2 separate regions of the Homo sapiens genome follow, and region 1 is linked to region 2. Evidence: promoter capture Hi-C in human tissues and cell types (Jung and others, 2019). All regions are on one chromosome and are shown on one strand. Each heading gives the region's core, a stretch centred on a gene start or on the middle of the fragment in contact. The rest is flanking DNA. Distances are from core to core; before and after follow the strand shown. Region 1 overlaps CREBBP (CREB binding lysine acetyltransferase). Region 2 holds the start of CDIP1 (cell death inducing p53 target 1).

Region 1 (2,796 bases), core at 290-2,789, 770 kb after region 2:
CTAAGGTTGAGGACGGCTGACCCTTGGGCACTTCTTAATGCTTAAGGTGCTTGCAAAATTAAAAGAACATTTGGAGACTTAGCACAGATTCTAACAATGAATGTAAACCCAGCAAGGAGCTGGGAATCCTCGGATGATGGGCGTCAGCTGCTCCAGAGGCATTAGGTATGGGTGTGCACAGAAGCTTGCCCTGGTCTCTGGAAACATCTCTTCTGTAGCTTGTGAGGGTGCTGTCCTTTCAGGGCACCTCCTCACCCTCTTTGTTGCTATGACACTTTGGTACTGTGCCCTCTGGCTCAGCTCTACCACAGCCTCGTTTAATGTCTCACTTGTTCCTGTCTTACCCAACCTTATGCCTTCATGTCCTCGTCCTTCCCTGGTACCCCTCACCATGCCACCGTCACCACCCCCACATTGATGCCGTTTTCTCTGGATATGGAGAAGTCTGTTCCTTCATCATCTTCATTGATTAATTGGGTGATTTCTTTTCAGTTTTCTGTTGCCTGTGCGTTCCATCTTATTTTACTTAAGAGTTTATTTAGCAAGTTGTAATTCTGTTTTCCTGTGGGTGCTTTTCCTAATGAACCGTTGTGGGTACATTTACAGGGATGAATTCATTTAACCCCATGTCCTTGGGGAACGTCCAGTTGCCACAAGCACCCATGGGACCTCGTGCAGCCTCCCCAATGAACCACTCTGTCCAGATGAACAGCATGGGCTCAGTGCCAGGGGTAAGTGTTCTCTTTCGCTGTGCTGCAGATAGCCCTCCCTCTCACATGGAACATTATCTAAGCAGCAGAATTCATGTCACTTGAGAATCCTGTGGTTCTTGTTCCTTTGAATTTGGGTTATGCTTTATTTCTTTCATCTCTCATTTTAAAAAAATTATTACTACACAGAATTATTTGACTGTTAGTTATTTTATTGGAATAACAAATTCATAGGAATGTGTGGCTTTGTGAGAATGTGGGAGTTCCAAGGCTGGAGAAGGCAGCCTCAGATATGTGGCCAGCAGGGAATTGTCAGCATCTGTTGACTGAGAGCTCGCTGTTCCGAGGCTGCTTTCTAAACACTTTAGAGAACTCATAGGCATGTCTTAAACTTTAAATTATAGCCTGCTATTGATTTCTATTCAGAGGACATTTTGAAGCTGGCTCATTTGAGAGATTGCCTGAGAAAGTGTGTAAGGTGCCCAGGAGCGCGGGAGTTCTTAGCAAGTGGTGGTCTCTTCCCATGAGGAAGGGCAGGATGTGAGCCCTGTGCTTGCCATCCTCTGGGGTTGTGAAGCCTTGGATCATTCTGGCTCACCTTGAAAACTCTGGCCGTCAGCTTCCGAACTACAGCTCTGGTGGTGCTTGTTGTCTCGTAGATGGCCATTTCTCCTTCCCGAATGCCTCAGCCTCCGAACATGATGGGTGCACACACCAACAACATGATGGCCCAGGCGCCCGCTCAGAGCCAGTTTCTGCCACAGAACCAGTTCCCGTCATCCAGCGGGGCGATGAGTGTGGGCATGGGGCAGCCGCCAGCCCAAACAGGCGTGTCACAGGTACTGTGCCCCACTGGGACCGTGGCTCCCTAGGAAATAAAATTCTTGTGTTAAGTTTTGGTTTTTTTTTTCTGTCTTCCTTCGTGGAAATTAAAATTCCAGAATGCACATTTCATGTCTTTGTATCAGCTTCTCTTTGTTTTCTCCACCTTTGTCCTGTAGTCCTTAACTCGTTTGGAATTTCTCTTATCCTTTCTGGGTTAACTATATGCAAAAGTGGGAATGGATTTAGAATTTTTGGTTTGTATGCTTTTGTGTTTTGATCTTTGAGTTTTTGTTTTCTTATTTTTTGTTTGTGTATTTTAAATTCTAACTTTAACGTGACCCTGAGAGGCATTAGGATTTTAAAAAGCGAGTGAGAAGGACCCATGAATTCACTCTTGATGATTTGGCTTTTGTTTCTTTTGACCTGTCTCCACTGCCAGGTGAAATCAAGCTAACAGAATCATTTCAATAGTTCCCTTCTTGTTAAATGTTTTTAATTTCTCAATCTAGAGCTGAAGAAATTGATTTTCCATTTATTCCTTCCTTTTTTCCTCTTTTGTTAGTTGTAGTGCGTATCATTGCTACTGTATACAAAATATACATGTATTTAAAACACACCAAATCCTCCCTAAAAGATAAAATTCTTGTTTTAAGTTTTTTTTTGTTTGTTTGTCTGTTTTAAGACAGGGTCTCGTTTTGTTGCCCAGACTGGAGTGCAGTGGTACAATCTCGGCTCTGCAACCTCCGCCTCCCGGGTTCAAGCGATTCTCCTGCCTAAGCCTGCCAAGTACCTGGGGTTACAGATGCCCGCCACCACACCCAGCTAATTTTTTTTTTTTTTTTTTTTTTTGTATTTTTAGTAGAGACGGGATTTCACCATGTTGGCCAGGCTGATCTCGATCTCCTGACCTCAGGTGATCCACCCACCTCGGCCTCCCAAAGTGCTGGGATTACAGGAGTAAGCTACCGTACCCAGCCTTGTTTTGAGTTTTTAATGTGAAATAATGCTGCATAAGTCATTATTATATATTAGATTTCCTCACTAAATGATTATTCTTAACTTTCCATAACATTTCATTTCTCTAGAACAAGGATTAGCAAACTTCGTGTAAAGGGCCAGATACTAAATATTTTCAGCTTTGCAGGCCATTCAATCTTGGTTTTCATCACTTCTGTTCTTGTAGTGCAGAAGCTGCTGTGGTACATAAATGAGGTGGCTGTGTGCCAATAAAGCTTTATTTACAGAAACAAGCAGCTCAGTG
Region 2 (3,025 bases), core at 132-2,631:
ACCTGAGCAAGTAGCCACCCAGTGGGTTCTTCTTCCTGGCTGCCCAGATAGAGCCAATGTATCAAGACAGGGGAACTGCAATAGAGAAAGAGTTTAATCCACACAGAGCTGGCTGAATGGGAGACCAAAGTTTCATTACTCAAATCAGTCTCCCTGGAAATTCAGAGCCTAGAGTTTTTAAAGGGTAATTTGGTAGATAAGCTGCCAAGGAGTAGGGAGTGCTGATTGGTGGGGTGGGAGATGAAATCACAGGGTGTTGAAGGATGCAAGAACTGGTTGAGTCAGATTACAGCTCTAGGTGGCCTTGGCTGGTGCATCAGACTGCAGGGTCAGAAAAACACCTAAGAGTACCAATCTTAGGTTTTACAATAGTGATATTATACCTAGGATCAACTGGGGAGGTTTAGAATCTTGTGGCCTCTGGGTGCATGACTCCTAAACCGTAATTTCTTTCTTTCTTTCTTTTTTTGAGATGGAGTCTCAGTCTCTTGCTCAGGCTGGAGTGCAGAGGCATAATCTCAGCTCACTGCAACCTCCATCTCTCGGGTTCAAGCAATTTTTGGGCTTCAGCCTCCCTAGTAGTTGGGATTACAGGTGCGTGCCACCATACCCGGCTAATTTTTGTATTTTTAAATAGAGACATGGTTTCACCATGTTGGCCAGGCTGGTCTCAAACTCCTGACCTCAAGTGATCCACCTGCGTCAGCCTTCCAAAGTGCTGGGATTACAGGCGTTAGCCACTGAGCTGGGCCCTAAACTATAATGTCTAATCTTGTAGCTAACGTGTTACTCTTACAAAGGAAGCCTGGTTCTCAGGCAACAAGGGGGTTTGTTTTGGGAAAGGGCTGTTAACTATCTTTGTTTCAATATTAAACTATAAACTAAGTTGCTCCCAAAGTTAGTTCTGCCTATGCCTAGGAATGAACAAGGACAACCTGGAGGTTAGAAGCAAGATGGAGTGGGTTAGGTCAGCTCTCTTTCACTGTCATAATTTTCTGTTGTAATTTTTGCAAAGGCAGTTTCAAGCGCAGGGACAGTGACCGTGTGGTTCAAGGTTTTATGTAATGCACCTCCCAAACTCAATAAATATTAGTCGCATAAAAGAAAAAATGCAGCCCTGGAGGAAGATGCCCTGCCCTGTTGCTGGCATGAGTGAAGAGGAGGCGCTCACAGGGACGGTTCTTTCCCTATTCTCCAGCCTCGTGTACATTGGGCAAACAGGCCCCGACCATCCCACGTGCTCAGCCCCAGCTCTAGGCCAAATCGCCTCCGCTCCCACTGACGTCATCACGGCGCATCACGTGCCTCCCGAGACCCCACCCCCCACCGTGACGTCCCGGGCCTCGGCCCTGGTCCAAAGTCTACCCGCCTCCTTGTGACAGAAGTGCGACTGCCAGCTGCCGAGGCGTTCGGTCCTGCTGTTGCGGCCGCTGCCCCAGGGCTGCGGGGACGGTGAGTCGACTGGACGCATTCGGAGACGGCTTCGCGCGGGAGCCCTCCTCCCCGGGGGAAGGGTCTGGGCGCCAGCTCTCCTCAGGTCGGGGCGTGACCTCGGACCGTGGCGCCCCCTCCCCGCCCCCGCCCGCGGCGCCTGGGCGGTGCATGCCGGGCACCGTAGTCCCCAGCCTCTCAGAGCGGGTTGTGGTGGGGGGGGTGACCGGGCGGACTACAAGTCCTAGAAGCCTCTGGGCGGTGGGGTGGGCGGTGGGTTGGGGGGTTTCGTTGTGCGCGCAAAGCCGCGCGGGGCTGAGGGTCTTGTTCTGCCGGCGCCTGTCCGGACCCGGGCCCCTCTCCGCTTTCGGCCGGCCTCGGGCACCGGGCTTCTGGAGGTAAAGCGGGGCCGGCGGTTGGGGCGCGGCATGGCGGGGCCCGTCCTCCCCTCAGGGCGCTGCCGAGACCTAGCGCGGCCCTGGGGATGTCGAAGCCGCTGCGGTGGCGGGGCCCGGGCGGGCGCCCCGCTGTGTGCCGCGGGGTTGTGCGCCCGGAATGGCAGCCTGCTCGCCCGCACGTTTTTCCGTCAGGGAAGGTTGTGGAAATTGCCATCTCCGTCTTGCAGGGCGAGACGGGGAGGGGAGGGGTGGGAGTTGTTTTCTCAAGGAAAGGGGGTCGAGGAGGAGCCCCGTGGCCGAGCCAGCCCCTGCCGAGCCCCGCGGGTGACCTTGGCCGTCCCGGAGCCCAGCAGTGTCCTGCACCCGCGCCCGGCTCGCCGACGTGTGGAGTCGGGATGTGGCGCTCGGCCGCGCATCCCCGGCGGAGATGGCGACGGCCTGGCCTAGCTTGGGGCTAGGAGTCGCGCCTTCGAGGACCTTGGCTTAGCGAGTTCCTTGGGGGGCTTCTCAACAGGTGTTAGATGAGGTGGGGCGAGTGGCTGTGAGTTCCTCCAAAGGTGGGCTCAAGATCCTCTGCGTCAGAACCACCTGGGGCTCTTGGGAAACGGGCAGATTCCTGGGGCCCACCCCAGGTGTTGGGATGCTGTAGTTCCGTCGCGCTGCCCAGGAATCTGCATTTAGTAGGCTCCCCAGATCATTCCCGGGCGCAGCTGGGGCTGAGAACCTGTCCCAGTGAGGGGGTTGGCGGGCCCGGGGGCAGGGACGTTCCATAGTGTTTCTGCCAGTTTCTTCTGTATTCTGGGGCCTGATGCTGGGCGGGGCGGTGCCCGGGCAAGTTACTGCTCTCCTGGGTTCTTTGCTGCTTCCCTTGGGGCCGATCTAGGTAGAACTGGGTGGAGGGAGGCGTGCCAGCTCTGCCTTGCCCTCTGCCCTTAATCGGAAAGGTTATGCCCAGTCACTTGCCAGTCTCAGAAGACTCCCCCTCTACACATTCAGTTACGAAAAACGTGAAACATACAAAAGTTGAAGGAATTTTACAGTGAACACCCACAGACCACCACCTAGAATGTAGAGTTAACACTTTATTGTATTTCATCACATATTTGTCCAACCAGCAGTCCCTCTTGTTTTTTGTGTCAAAGTAAGTTGCAGATATCAGTGCCTTTCCCTCCCAAATAAGCATGCATGTCATTAAT

The links. Contacts are between HindIII fragments. The study calls those that stand out against the background at their distance.
Region 1: a fragment that was not itself captured here is called in contact with the fragment with the promoter of CDIP1 in region 2 in 1 of the 25 tissues and cell types used here (dorsolateral prefrontal cortex).

The regions. Positions count from the first base shown.
Region 1 is chr16:3,772,504-3,775,299 of GRCh38, reverse strand. CREBBP (CREB binding lysine acetyltransferase) reads left to right here. Exons shown (of 31, transcript NM_004380.3): 12 at 607-731; 13 at 1,370-1,549. Among named protein-coding and RNA genes, the nearest start is that of TRAP1, 56 kb to the right of the region's middle. The HindIII fragment of the contact is 3,238 bases long and covers 1-2,796 here.
Region 2 is chr16:4,537,129-4,540,153 of GRCh38, reverse strand. CDIP1 (cell death inducing p53 target 1) reads left to right here and starts at 1,381. Exons shown (of 6, transcript NM_013399.3): 1 at 1,381-1,452. It also overlaps a transcript of C16orf96 not described here. RefSeq lists silencers at 1,465-1,754, 1,765-1,984. The HindIII fragment of the contact is 9,452 bases long and covers 1-3,025 here.